Regions from separate parts of the Homo sapiens genome. Here region 1 is linked to region 2. The links are contacts of gene promoters, found by promoter capture Hi-C in blood cells and fetal thymus (Javierre and others, 2016). All regions are on one chromosome and are shown on one strand. The core of a region is centred on a gene start or on the middle of the fragment in contact, and the rest is flanking DNA. Distances in the headings are between cores, read along the strand shown.

Evidence for each region. The method cuts DNA at HindIII sites, captures the fragments that hold promoters and counts their contacts. A CHiCAGO score of 5 or more calls a contact.
Region 1: a fragment that was not itself captured here is called in contact with the fragment with the promoter of NKX2-3 in region 2 in 1 of 17 cell types (naive B cells); the score reaches 9.6 in naive B cells.

The regions. Positions count from the first base shown.
Region 1 is chr10:101,126,723-101,132,915 of GRCh38, forward strand. It overlaps TLX1NB (TLX1 neighbor), which reads right to left and starts at 4,424. Exons shown (of 3, transcript NR_130723.1): 1 at 4,064-4,424; 2 at 238-376. It overlaps TLX1 (T cell leukemia homeobox 1), which reads left to right and starts at 4,578. Exons shown (of 3, transcript NM_005521.4): 1 at 4,578-5,387. The coding sequence starts at 4,820. The HindIII fragment of the contact is 408 bases long and covers 3,034-3,441 here.
Region 2 is chr10:99,529,588-99,535,066 of GRCh38, forward strand. NKX2-3 (NK2 homeobox 3) reads left to right here and starts at 3,355. Exons shown (of 2, transcript NM_145285.3): 1 at 3,355-3,902; 2 at 5,398-5,479. The coding sequence starts at 3,545. LINC01475 (long intergenic non-protein coding RNA 1475) reads right to left here and starts at 1,590. Exons shown (of 5, transcript NR_120618.1): 1 at 1,425-1,590. RefSeq lists an enhancer at 2,685-3,576. The HindIII fragment of the contact is 5,996 bases long and covers 2,885-5,479 here.

The DNA.
Region 1 (6,193 bases), core at 1,988-4,487, 1.6 Mb after region 2:
CCTGGCCCGGGGGTCTCTTTCAGAGCGGGGAAGAGGAGGAGATTGTGTGGGATCCAAAGGGGCCTCCCCCTGGGCTGAGCCCGTCCTTTCCTCCTCCCCCAGCCCGGGCCCTGGCCCCAGCTGCTCTTCTTTTAATTGGAGGCACTTTTTTATTCTGCAGGCCAGGGGGAGCCGGTGCTTGGGGGGAGGGGTGTTACCAGGTGGCCTCAGAACCAGAGAGAAGGATCTGCAACTCACCTAGGTTCCTGCAAGATAGTCCTGTGAGGCAAGAGCCAAGTTTAGGCTTAAGGAAGCAGCTTGTAGTGAGTGGAGTCAAGAAAGCAGTGTTTGCGTCTGGTCTGCCCCTTTCCAGCTTTCAGTGCCTTGGTTTTCTCATCTGTAAAATGGGGATAACAAAAACCACATCACAGGATTAAAGATGAGTGGAGAGATCATTCTGGTGGCTCACACATGGCAGTTGCTCTGTGAGTCCTGCTTTCTTCCCCTCCCTCCTCGTTCCTATCAGGGCTGTTTTGCAAGGCATGCAAAAGCACGGTGGAAACACAGAAGCTGCAGCGAATATAAACTTGTGTGAGTCTCCTCTCCTGTTTCAGAAAACTTCCCAACCTTGCAACACCGTGCTCAGGTAACACTGCTCTCAGGAGAAGGGGTGGGCGCCAGAGCCCAGCAAATCCTGACCCTCCAGTCTCATCTTTCTAGGTAAGGAAGGGACAGAGAGGGTAGTCTTGGCCCTCAGTAAATACCCTATTGGAAGACAAAGGCTGGGATTAAGCTGACTCACAGAATCCCAGCACCTCATTGAGGGTAAAAGTTGGGAGTATCCCCAATTGGGATAAAAGTTGACTCTGATAAACAAAAAAGGTAGGAGGGGAAAAAGGAAGAAATCCGTCAAGGAAGCGGCTGTGATCGCAGGGGAAAGTCAGTATATCCCTGGGCTGCTGGATTTTAATGAGAAGAGCTTGACAGTCTTAGTGGGCCATGTACAAGGGAGTGGTGACTCTGCCAACCTTAAGCTGGGCCAGGAATGGTAAAGTCTCCTCCCAGGTACCCTGGACAACTGATACCAGATCTGAGGAGTTCAAGAGGTAGATCAGGCAAATGCCAAAAGGGTTGGAAGGCCATCTGAGCTGGAGATGTGCACCTGGAAAGATAGGTGGTTTATTTTATTTTATTTTATTTTATTTTATTTAGTTTTATAAATTTTACCTTCAACCAACCCACACCAAAAGATGGGGTTTTAACTGCAGCAGGTAAAACTGTGGTGAGACTAAAAGGAGTGAGGCCACTAGGACCCAGCCTCAAAAAAAGCTGCAGTACCCTTCCCCATAGTTTTCAGCCTCAAACAAGGAAAATAGCTCAGATTTTGAGATTCCAGATCAATCTTCTCTGTCTATGGAACTTGGAGCAAGTTTGTTCTCTTTACTGAGTCTCAGTTTTCATTTTCTTTTTAGAGATGGGGCATTGCTATGTTGCCCAGGCTAGAGGTGCAATTATAGCACATCTCAGGCTCAAATTCCTGGCCCCAAGTGATCCTCTAGCCTCACCCTGCAGAGCTGCTAGAACTACAGGCACGGGCCACTGCACCCAGCCATTTTTTTCTTTTTAAAAATGAGATATAATTCATGTGCTATAATATTCAGCCCCTTTAAAATGTATAATTCGGTGGGTTTTAATATTTTTAAAAGTTATGTAACCATCACCACTATCTCATTCCAGAATGTTTTCATCACTCCAAAAGGAATTCTGTATCCATTAGCAGTCAATTTCCATTCCCTGCTGCCCCCAGTTCCTGAAAACCACTAATCTATTCTCTGCCTCTGTGGATTTGCCTATTTTGGACATTTCATAAAAGTGGAATCATACAATATGTGGCCTTTGTGCTTGGCTTCTTTCACTTAGCAGAATAGTCTCCTAGGTTCATCCATGTTATAGCATGAACCAGCATTTCCCTTCTTTTCCTTTTTATGGCTAAATAATATTCCATGTGTGGATATAACAAATTTTGTTTATCTATTCATCAGTTGGTGGACATCTGAGTTGTTTCCCCTTTTGGGCTATCATGAATAATACTGCCATGAACATTCATTCAATTCTCTCAATTATAAAAAATTGGGACATTTCTATTAACTTGCCTGGGTTGTTATAAGTCTTAAATGAGATAAGCATGATGTGGTACCTGGCACAAAACTGTCTTTCAATAAATAATTTATTTCTGCTTTAGTTCCCTCAAGATAAGAGGCAGGAAGAGATTCATTCGGGTTCAGACAACTTCCAAAGTAAGTTATGGAACTCCTTGGGAAGGGGTAGAGTACCTGGATTGGGTAAGTGGGAAGAAGAGAACTGGCGAGGGAGCGGAGCCCTCTCATGTTTCTGCTTAGTGTTTTTTTTTGTTTGTTTGTTTTTTGAGATGGAGTCTTGCACTGTTGCCCAGGCTGGAGTGCAGTGGCGCGATCTCAGCTTACTGCAAGCTCTGCCTCCTGGGTTCACGCCATTCTCCTGCCTCAGCTTCCTGAGTAGCTGGGACTACAGGTGCCCACCACCACGCCTGGCTAATTTTTTGTACTTTTGGTAGAGACGGGGTTTCACCGTGTTAGCCAGGATGGTCTCAATCTCCTGACCTCGTGATCTGCCCGCCTTGGCCTCCCAAAGTGCTGGGATTACAGGTGTGAGCCACCATGCCCAGCCTTCTGCTTAGTGTTTACAAACAACTACCAATTTCACATTTGGCTTTGTCTTGAGTGGGCCTTTGTCCACCTGGCTAGAGCTCAGACAAGGTTTTCCCCACAGATACAAACTTCCAACCAGCACGTAGGTTTCCAGGCTAACCCACAAAAGCAAGTTGAGTCTAGCTCCTCCATATTGATCCACACCAATCATAGCTATTCTGAAATGTACTTTCCTCACATCTGTAAAATAGGGAGAATACTCATCTCGAAGGATTGGTGTAGAGTTTATATTGTTCTCCATAATACTAACATCTGTCTTGTTGTATTTGCTTCTTTGCTTATTGTCTGACCCCCTCTATAGAATGTAAGCTTCATGAGGTCAGGACCTTTGTTTTGTTCACTGCTATGTCCCCCATGCCTAGAACAGTGCCTGACACATAGTGAGTACAGTACTCAATAAATATTATTGAATAAAGAGATACATTCTTTGTTATTCACCCAAGATGACCATATTTTGTTGTTTGGGGCTGTATTCTTCAGGAGAGAACAGAAATGAATAAGCCACTCTCTGCCTCCAAGAAGATCTCTTCAAGTGGAGGTGACAGACATGCCCAAAGCAAATAGATTGCAATAAGACTTGATGGGAGAGAATGTGAGTCTTCACATCCTAGCATCTTTCCAGATAGAGACAGGGCCTACCCAAAAGTCTAATCTGAAACTGAACTGAAATAGAACAGAAATAGATCCCAAGTGATGGAACCTGTGCCTTTCCCAAAGCTTGGCTTCTAAAAGGTAGCAAACATTTTCTACTGGAGAGGGGAAAGACAGGAAGAAGAAAAAGGGAGTTTCCTCCTTTTCTCTTGGGCTCTCAGCCAGACAGCCACTGGCAAAACGTTGGAAAGGCCTAAATTTGTCCTGGATGCACTTCCCTGATCCTAGTCCCACCAATCCCAGCCCCCACGGCCTTAAGCCCCTATGGCTCCCTCCCAAGATTCCAAACGTAAGAAAAGAACACACACCACAGTCCAAAGGCTTCTTGTCTGGAATAGCCAACCCTGGGGTAATTGTTAGGTGGAATGCAATCTGGTTGAATTCATTCAAACACTGTAGGAATTGCCTCTTTCGAACCCTGTAGGATTTTACTTCTTGACGCATCTGTTTATTTAAAACCAAAGGGGTATGTTGAGGCATGGGCACCCTGGCAGCAGACCCCAAACCAACCCTCTTGACTTGTGCCTGCCTTTCAGGATATGTTCCCTTCCTGAATTTGTCTAAGAAGGCTGAGTTGGGGGGTGGTTGCTGATTTTTATAACATATAGCCAGTTGTTCATAGGCCTGTGTTTTAAAGAAGGGCAAGCCTGAACTCACCGTCCTGCCTCAGGGCCTGGGCTCCATACCTGGGGAGTAGACAGTCTTCTACTTTCTAAAAAGCTGGACTTGAAATTTGGAGTAAATCTCCTGGTTGAGTGACAGGTGTTTCGCAGCTGAGCCCTTGAGGAGATTCTCCAGTTGGGCAGAGACATCCCTTCCTCAGACGCCTTGTGGGCTGGACTCCTTTGGCCCAGTTCAAAGTGAGGGGAGGGCTCCCAACAGGCCGGGAAGACAGTTGACTTCACCCTCCTTGGGTTTGTCTGTCTGTCCGTCTCTGGGAATGGTCGCTTCCTGTTTTCCCTTTTCCTTTTAAGCCTCGCCTTGTTCCCCTCTTCTCTCTCTTCATGAACTACTCCGAGTCTTGGTCTCCGTCCCTCTATCTCTGGCTCCTGCATCTGTCTCGGCTTCTGGCCTTCCTCTCCCCCTCCCCTCCCCTCCCTCGCGCTGTCATTCACCCCGCTCCTCTCCGCGCACAGCCAATGGAGAGACCCAGTCGAAACCGCGAAGCTCTCTTGCACCGGGCTTTTTCGCCTGGTGATTGATGTCCCAGAGTCAACAGCGAGCGAGCAGCCGGAGCGGGGAAGCAGAAGCCAGAGAGGGGAAGAATACGGCGCCCCCTCTCTCCCTCCCCTCCCCCTTCTACTTTAGCCTTTCTGCGCACTTCGCTTCCAAGTCTCCGCGCAGCCAGGAGCCGCTGTTGCCTCCCAGCCCCTGCTAGCTGCCCCCCGAGCCGAGCGCAGCGAGCGCCGCCGCCCGGGCCCCCCGGTGGGGCCAGGGCCAGCATGGAGCACCTGGGTCCGCACCACCTCCACCCGGGTCACGCAGAGCCCATTAGCTTCGGCATCGACCAGATCCTCAACAGCCCGGACCAGGGTGGCTGCATGGGACCCGCCTCGCGCCTCCAGGACGGAGAATACGGCCTTGGCTGCTTGGTCGGAGGCGCCTACACTTACGGCGGCGGGGGCTCCGCGGCCGCGACGGGGGCTGGAGGAGCGGGGGCCTATGGTACTGGAGGTCCCGGCGGCCCCGGAGGCCCGGCAGGCGGCGGCGGCGCCTGCAGCATGGGTCCTCTGACCGGCTCCTACAACGTGAACATGGCCTTGGCAGGCGGCCCCGGTCCTGGCGGCGGCGGCGGCAGCAGCGGCGGTGCCGGGGCACTCAGCGCTGCGGGGGTAATCCGGGTGCCGGCACACAGGCCGCTCGCCGGAGCCGTGGCCCACCCCCAGCCCCTGGCCACCGGCTTGCCCACCGTGCCCTCTGTGCCTGCCATGCCGGGCGTCAACAACCTCACTGGCCTCACCTTCCCCTGGATGGAGAGTAACCGCAGATACACAAAGGACAGGTTCACAGGTGAGTCCGGCCCGCGCGCTCCCCGCCTGGCCGCGGCCCGGGCTCCGTGCTACCCCTGCCCCGCCGGGTGGCTCCCCAAAGCCGGTTCTGCGCTCCAGGTCGCCCAGCTCTTCTTGGTGCTTCCCCCAAGTTGAGCCGCCCGCCCGATTCTATAACGCAGACTCGCCATGCTTGAAGAGTTCTCTCAGCCTGGACCCCTCTCTGTCTCCCGAAGGACCCCTGCTCGGAGGAGCTCTCCCTGGTCCCCTCTCCGGATCCACTAGCCGGGTCAGGCAGAGAGAAGGAGGCCATAGATTCAGGACCACCTTCTGCAGCTACTCTTGGCCTGGGAATCTTAGAGAAAGGGGTGCAACGTGAACAGTTTCTTCCGTCCTGGCTGCTGTTCTAGGACCCAGGAAGCGAGCCCCAGGATCAGACACAAGAAAAGAACAGGTTCCCCCACCTCCAGTCCCCTACACACATGCACTTCGCGCCCCTAGCTCCGGTGCCCGTGGTGCTGCGGGGCCAGTGGGGGCTCTGAGCCCCGGTAAATCAGCAGAACCAGTGGCCTTTTTTTTTTTTTCCGGAGAGCAGGCTTCATCTGGGAGGATGGCAGCGGGGCTTAGCCGCCCAGGACAGCTAGCTTTTCATTTTCGTTCTCTCCCGGCTGGGTGTCCTACCCCGGGCCCAGCCCTGTTATCTTGGGCACGAACAATGCACCGGTAGGCTGGTGATCGGTGGCGGGAAGACTACTCCCGGGACATTGGGTACTAAGTGGTGGCCGCTGCCGCCTTCTCTGCTGCCCGCTCCCGCCTTCCTCTGCTGGC
Region 2 (5,479 bases), core at 2,105-4,604:
AAAAAGGTACAGACGTTTAGGCATCTATACAGCACTTCCCCTTCAAGGACTTTGCCACCATTTACTGATGATCTTTAATCATAGGGTGGGGGAGAGAGCTTGTATAAATGTATGAGGTGATGAAAGGGTAGGAAGGCAGATACACTCGATTAAAATAAAATCAAACGCTTCCATGGATGCAGCCATACTTACTTTATCTGACAGTAATTAGCTAAACTGTCTGGAACGAAAACCTATTATTAGTAGAGCACAGCTCGAGGATTTCAAAGATCTACTTTTCAGACAAGAGAATGCAAATGCCCCAGAAGGCGATGGTAACTGGATAGGCGTTGGAACCAGATCCCACTCTGATAAGAGACTCCTGCGGAGCGACTGCTGCTGTACAACTACGGCTCTCGAGTTCTCCTCCTTTCAGGCCCGCGGCCGTCGAGGGTACAGGCTGCGCGCGCGGGAAAAGGAGGCCACCTAGATGAGATTGGCCTGGCGGGGATCCCTGCGGGGAAGCACGCCACTGGGGAACCAGACCAAGGGAGTCTGAACAATACTGAGGGGGTAGCTGGAGACAACCCAAACTCCTGCTCTGGGCATAAAACTCAGATCAACCTTAGGGATGCGGTAGCGGATAGAGGTTTTCCGCAGGCTGGAACAGCACTACACTGGGCTGGGTATGAGGAAAGGAAGCGGCGATAAGGTCTAGGCGCCGCCCGCTAGGCCCCTTCGCCTGGAAGTCCTCACAGGCCCTGGTGGCCTACTGAGGAGCAACCTGCCCAGGGTCCTCAAGAGACAACCGCTTAGGCCTGGCGCAAGGTACCTGGCCCGGGAGCGGCTGGGGCGGCGGAATTTGGGGTAGAGGGGCACCCGTGGGCCGGCTGGTGGGGAGGAGACAGCCCCCTGCATGAGCTCACAGAGGCGCCCTGGTGGGCTCCGGCGGCTGCAGAGCGTCTGTGGGCGTGTATTGGCGATCAGGCGCTGGAGGGGCGCTTTGTCCTGGTCGCAGTTTTAAGACCTGGATTGTTGGGCTAGATTTATGAAAGGCCTAGGAGCGAAGCGAGATGGGAAGCAAGGGAATGTAACAAGGAGAAATGCAGGCTTCGGTTGGAAACTGGGGAGAGAGAGATTGTTTCGATAGCCTTTCTCCTTTTCTTTTTCCAGAATCATGAAATCACCGAGGAGAAGAAAACTGGGGACTAGAAGAGAGCAGAAACATTTCCCCTGAGACAGTTTTGCCCCGGAGGTGGGGTGGGGAAGTGGCGCTGGAGCTCAGCTTCCTGCTTTTATGCTCGGCGGCCACCGTGATGCACACACACTCGAGGTCCGCCACCCCGCAGTGCCGTGCACCCCTCTGCCCCCACCTCGGAATTTTTGTGCCCGAGCGCTCGGGATCCACGGCAAAACCAGGCACATTCCTCCCTCTGCAGACTCACCGCCTGGTTTGTAGACACTGGTCTCCGCCTGGGGCGTCAATAGTTTCAGGATTTAAAGCAGAAAGACACCGGGCGCCCCTGTGGCTGAGGAATGGCGGTTCCAGCACAAGACCCTGCCCACAGAGGGTCTCTCCCTACTGCCTGCGGGCCGCCGCTACCCTAAGTACTCCGGGGCGCACGTGGCCCGCGCGGCATCCCAGCTCCCCGGGCGGACCCAGGGGCTGCCTCTCCACAACAGTTCCGCTCCCTTCTGCAGAGCCCCGCCTCTCCCACCTCCCGACAGGCTGTTCTTTCTCCCTTCAACCTTGGGCACCCACTCCTGTCGCCGTTGCGGGACCCGCGTGGCAGCCCTCCACCCTCGTACCCACTCCCAGCCGGTGTCTTATGCCGCTCGGAGGCAATGTCCACCGTCCCTGCACCTTTCACCTGCCCCTTCCAGGTGAGACGGGTCTCTTTCAGCTCCGCCATCCTGACCGCCAAAAAATGCTTGGATTGGCTGGGGCCGGATGAGGACAGCCACGGTTGAGCTGGAACCGTTCCCTATTTTTTTAAGGCCAGCGCTGCACACGGGTCTTTCTGTGGCCCTCAAAGCAGCGCCCGCTGCTCCTCACTGGGCTAGGCCTGGTAGCGAGCAAATGCCTATTGTGGGAGAAGATGGTCCCAGAGTTTCCAGCTCAGAGTTTCCAGAATCTGTGGGGGACTGTATAGACTCCCCCAGAAAACAACCAGGGCCTCATGAAGGTGCCAGAAGGCGTGTAGGTAGAGAAATTTTAAAAGCCTGTCGGAGAGGCAAGGCCTACATTCAGGCTCCTGATTTCAATAGGTGGAAAAGAAGGCTGCCAAGGCTGGGTCACCTCCCTTGTGAGGACAGATCCTGCTCTCAGTATGTGCCACACTCCAGCCACGCACCACCAATGCAGTCAACAAACACTGCTTGACCTCCCATACAGAAAAGCAGTCGTTGACACGTACTGAGCGCTTAACACGCGTGAGGCCGTGCACTAAGATTCTGGCATGTTTTGCCTCATTCAACCCTAGCAACAACCAAAAAAGGTATTACTGCCTTCGTTTTATAGACGAGAAAACAGACTTAGAAACGCCGAAGATCACACACTGACTAGGCCAAGCAAGAGCTGTCGAATACCAAAGTTTAGTCATAACTCTATCTTCCTTTCACATACTGCTCTGTGCGGCTGCTGCCAGGGATACAAGGGCAAAAGCAACCCCGGGACACTGCCCTCATGGAGCTTACAGTCTAACTGGGGCGACCAGGCAGGCACATACAGCTATAGAATTAAGTGGGAAGTGATAAGTGACATGCATGTCCTTTGCTAACACAAGCTGCAGGTTCAGAGCCTGAAAGAGGGGACTTCCGGCTAGACGATCTAGGAGCTCTTCCTTGGAGAACAGTTTCCACTCGTGGAGGCTAAGTGTCAGAAACATGTTCCAAGTGGAGAGAAAGCTTGAGCAAAGGCAACAAGTTGAAAAAGGACATGTCGCCCACCCATAGATAGATAAAACACTGCATCTCCTCGTGGATCCAGCGCCCAGTATTTACCCGCCAGGAAGTTTTCCTGCCCCGCGCAGCAGCTGAAAAAAACACACTCCTGGGGCATCCTTCCCTGGCGTTGGTTCGTGGACAGCAAGCCTCCCAGAACTGGCCTAGGTCGGGAAGGTGCAGCCACGCGGGAATCAATGGTTCAGGAACCGGATCTGTGCAGCCTCGCCCGCAGCGTCTCGGACTTCAGGACTCTATACTAGTCCTTGTCTATTTCTGGTAGAGCCGCAACATCCCACTCGCAGAGAGCAGGGGGCGTGGCCCACATGAGCCAGAACCTATAGGGAGGGAGGTTGGGGCGCCAGCCCCGCCCCCCCAACGTGACGCAAATCTCCCGGACAGAGGCTTAGGAGCCCGGGCCCCAGTCCCTGCAGTGGCTGTAACAAAACCCAGACCCCCAGGTCCCGGCCAATGGAGGCGATTTAGACTGGAGTGGGACCGCGTCTGTCAAAAGCCCGACTCGGCAGCAGCGGCGGAGTCCAGGAGGAGAGCTGGAGCCGCCGCGCTGCCTCCCCGCCCCCGCCGGGATTTATTATTTGGACTGGACAATTAAGTGGCCCTGATGATGTTACCAAGCCCGGTCACCTCCACCCCTTTCTCAGTCAAAGACATTTTGAATCTGGAGCAGCAGCACCAGCACTTCCATGGTGCGCACTTGCAGGCGGACTTGGAGCACCACTTCCACTCTGCGCCCTGCATGCTGGCCGCCGCTGAGGGGACGCAATTTTCTGACGGAGGGGAGGAGGACGAGGAAGACGAGGGCGAGAAATTGTCCTATTTGAACTCACTAGCCGCAGCAGACGGCCACGGGGATTCAGGGCTGTGTCCCCAGGGCTATGTCCACACGGTCCTGCGAGACTCGTGCAGCGAGCCCAAGGAACATGAAGAGGAGCCCGAGGTCGTGAGGGACCGGAGCCAAAGTGAGTAGAGGGGGAAAGAAAACGCACCCGCACACCTGGAGCAATGGCAGAGCGCACACAAACAGCCCACAGACCTTGCCAGCGCAGCTGCCCATCCCTTTACCCTTTGGCTGGGGCCATGCCTCCGCCCTGGTCACCGACAGCTCCACAAAGCGCAGGTACCTGCAAGGGAGCCGGGGTGGAGAGACAAGGACGAGGTGACCCTGACAACTACTCCCCCCAAAAGGGGGAAATGAGGGAAGGGAAGGTGGTTACTGCTGCCCTGATGCTGAGAGGCGACGTGGGCTCAGCGCCTGGGTCCTCATAACTGGCAGTATTTTTGCTCTTCCCCCCGCCCCAAAAGGCTCTTCCCCCAAAAAGGGCAGGAGCCTGGACCTTTTTCGTTTTCCCTCTAGGGTGAGATGAGTTCTCTTAGCCCAGGGCAGCCACCCCTTCTTCTCCGAAAAGACAGCCCAAGCAGCCTGTGTCTCTCGCACCCGCAGGGGCAGGAACTTTGGTGGAGGCCAGCTGGGCGGTTTCCTCCCTTCTCTGCTTGGAGCTCAGCGTCCTTGAACCCGTGGCACTCGGTAGAGAGAGAGGAGATGATCGGAAAGTGCGTGGGAACAATGTCTATTCCGCGCGACCATAGCTCTCACATCCCTAAGGCGCCAGCCTTTTTTGAAAATCCGTAACGTTTTGCTTTGTGTCCCAGGCTGCGGGCCTAATAGAAAACGCGCCGAACTTGAGTCCGAGATCTTGGCTGCTCACATCGGATGGGAAGTGAATTGATAGGGAGATGGGATAATCAAATAAAGTCCCCAAGGAAGTGTATTTAAGAGGACAGAATCACAGTCTTTCCCCAAGAGGCGGTTTGATGTGGCAGAGGCCAAGGCCTATGCTCTCATAGTTCCCAGAGCCGAAAATCGGCATGAAACTGTCTATAACTAGTCAATCAAACTTCATTTTCAAAGTGCACACAGATGTCGTCATAACATTCGCTTGTAGTCTTTTATAAGCCACACACACACACAAGTCCCTGAGCCATGCACAAGCGTTACACTCAGAACAGATTTTCGCGCAACCCATGCCCACCGGCCCACTCATACCAACACGCCTCACACCTTCAGTTATCCTTGGTGGAGTAGAATGCAAACGAGTTTGCAAATACTGTAGTTATTATGTAGTTGCAAGCCTTCATCCTGAAAATAGTCATTAGCACGTCGAGCCGCATATTTAATACAGAGTAATCTCTTCTCTCGCAGATGCTCAAGATCCAAATAAACACGCACTAACTACCCCTCTCCACGAAACGCGCCTCCGCCTGCTAAGGGCGTTCTTTGGGTACTGGGGCTGTCTCAGGGTCCCACAGCGCCAGGAGCCACAAACGTTCCCAAAAGTCCAGCCATTTACTACCGCACGCTCTGCGCAGCCACCAAAAAGGGTCACGGTGCTCCAGGACAGGAGCCGCGGTGCGGCCGGGAACAGCTAAGGACGCTGTTGTTTGCTTCTTCCGCAGAAAGCTGCCAGCTGAAGAAGTCTCTAGAGACGGCCGGAGACTGCAAGGCGGCGGAGGAGAGCGAGAGGCCGAAGCCACGCAG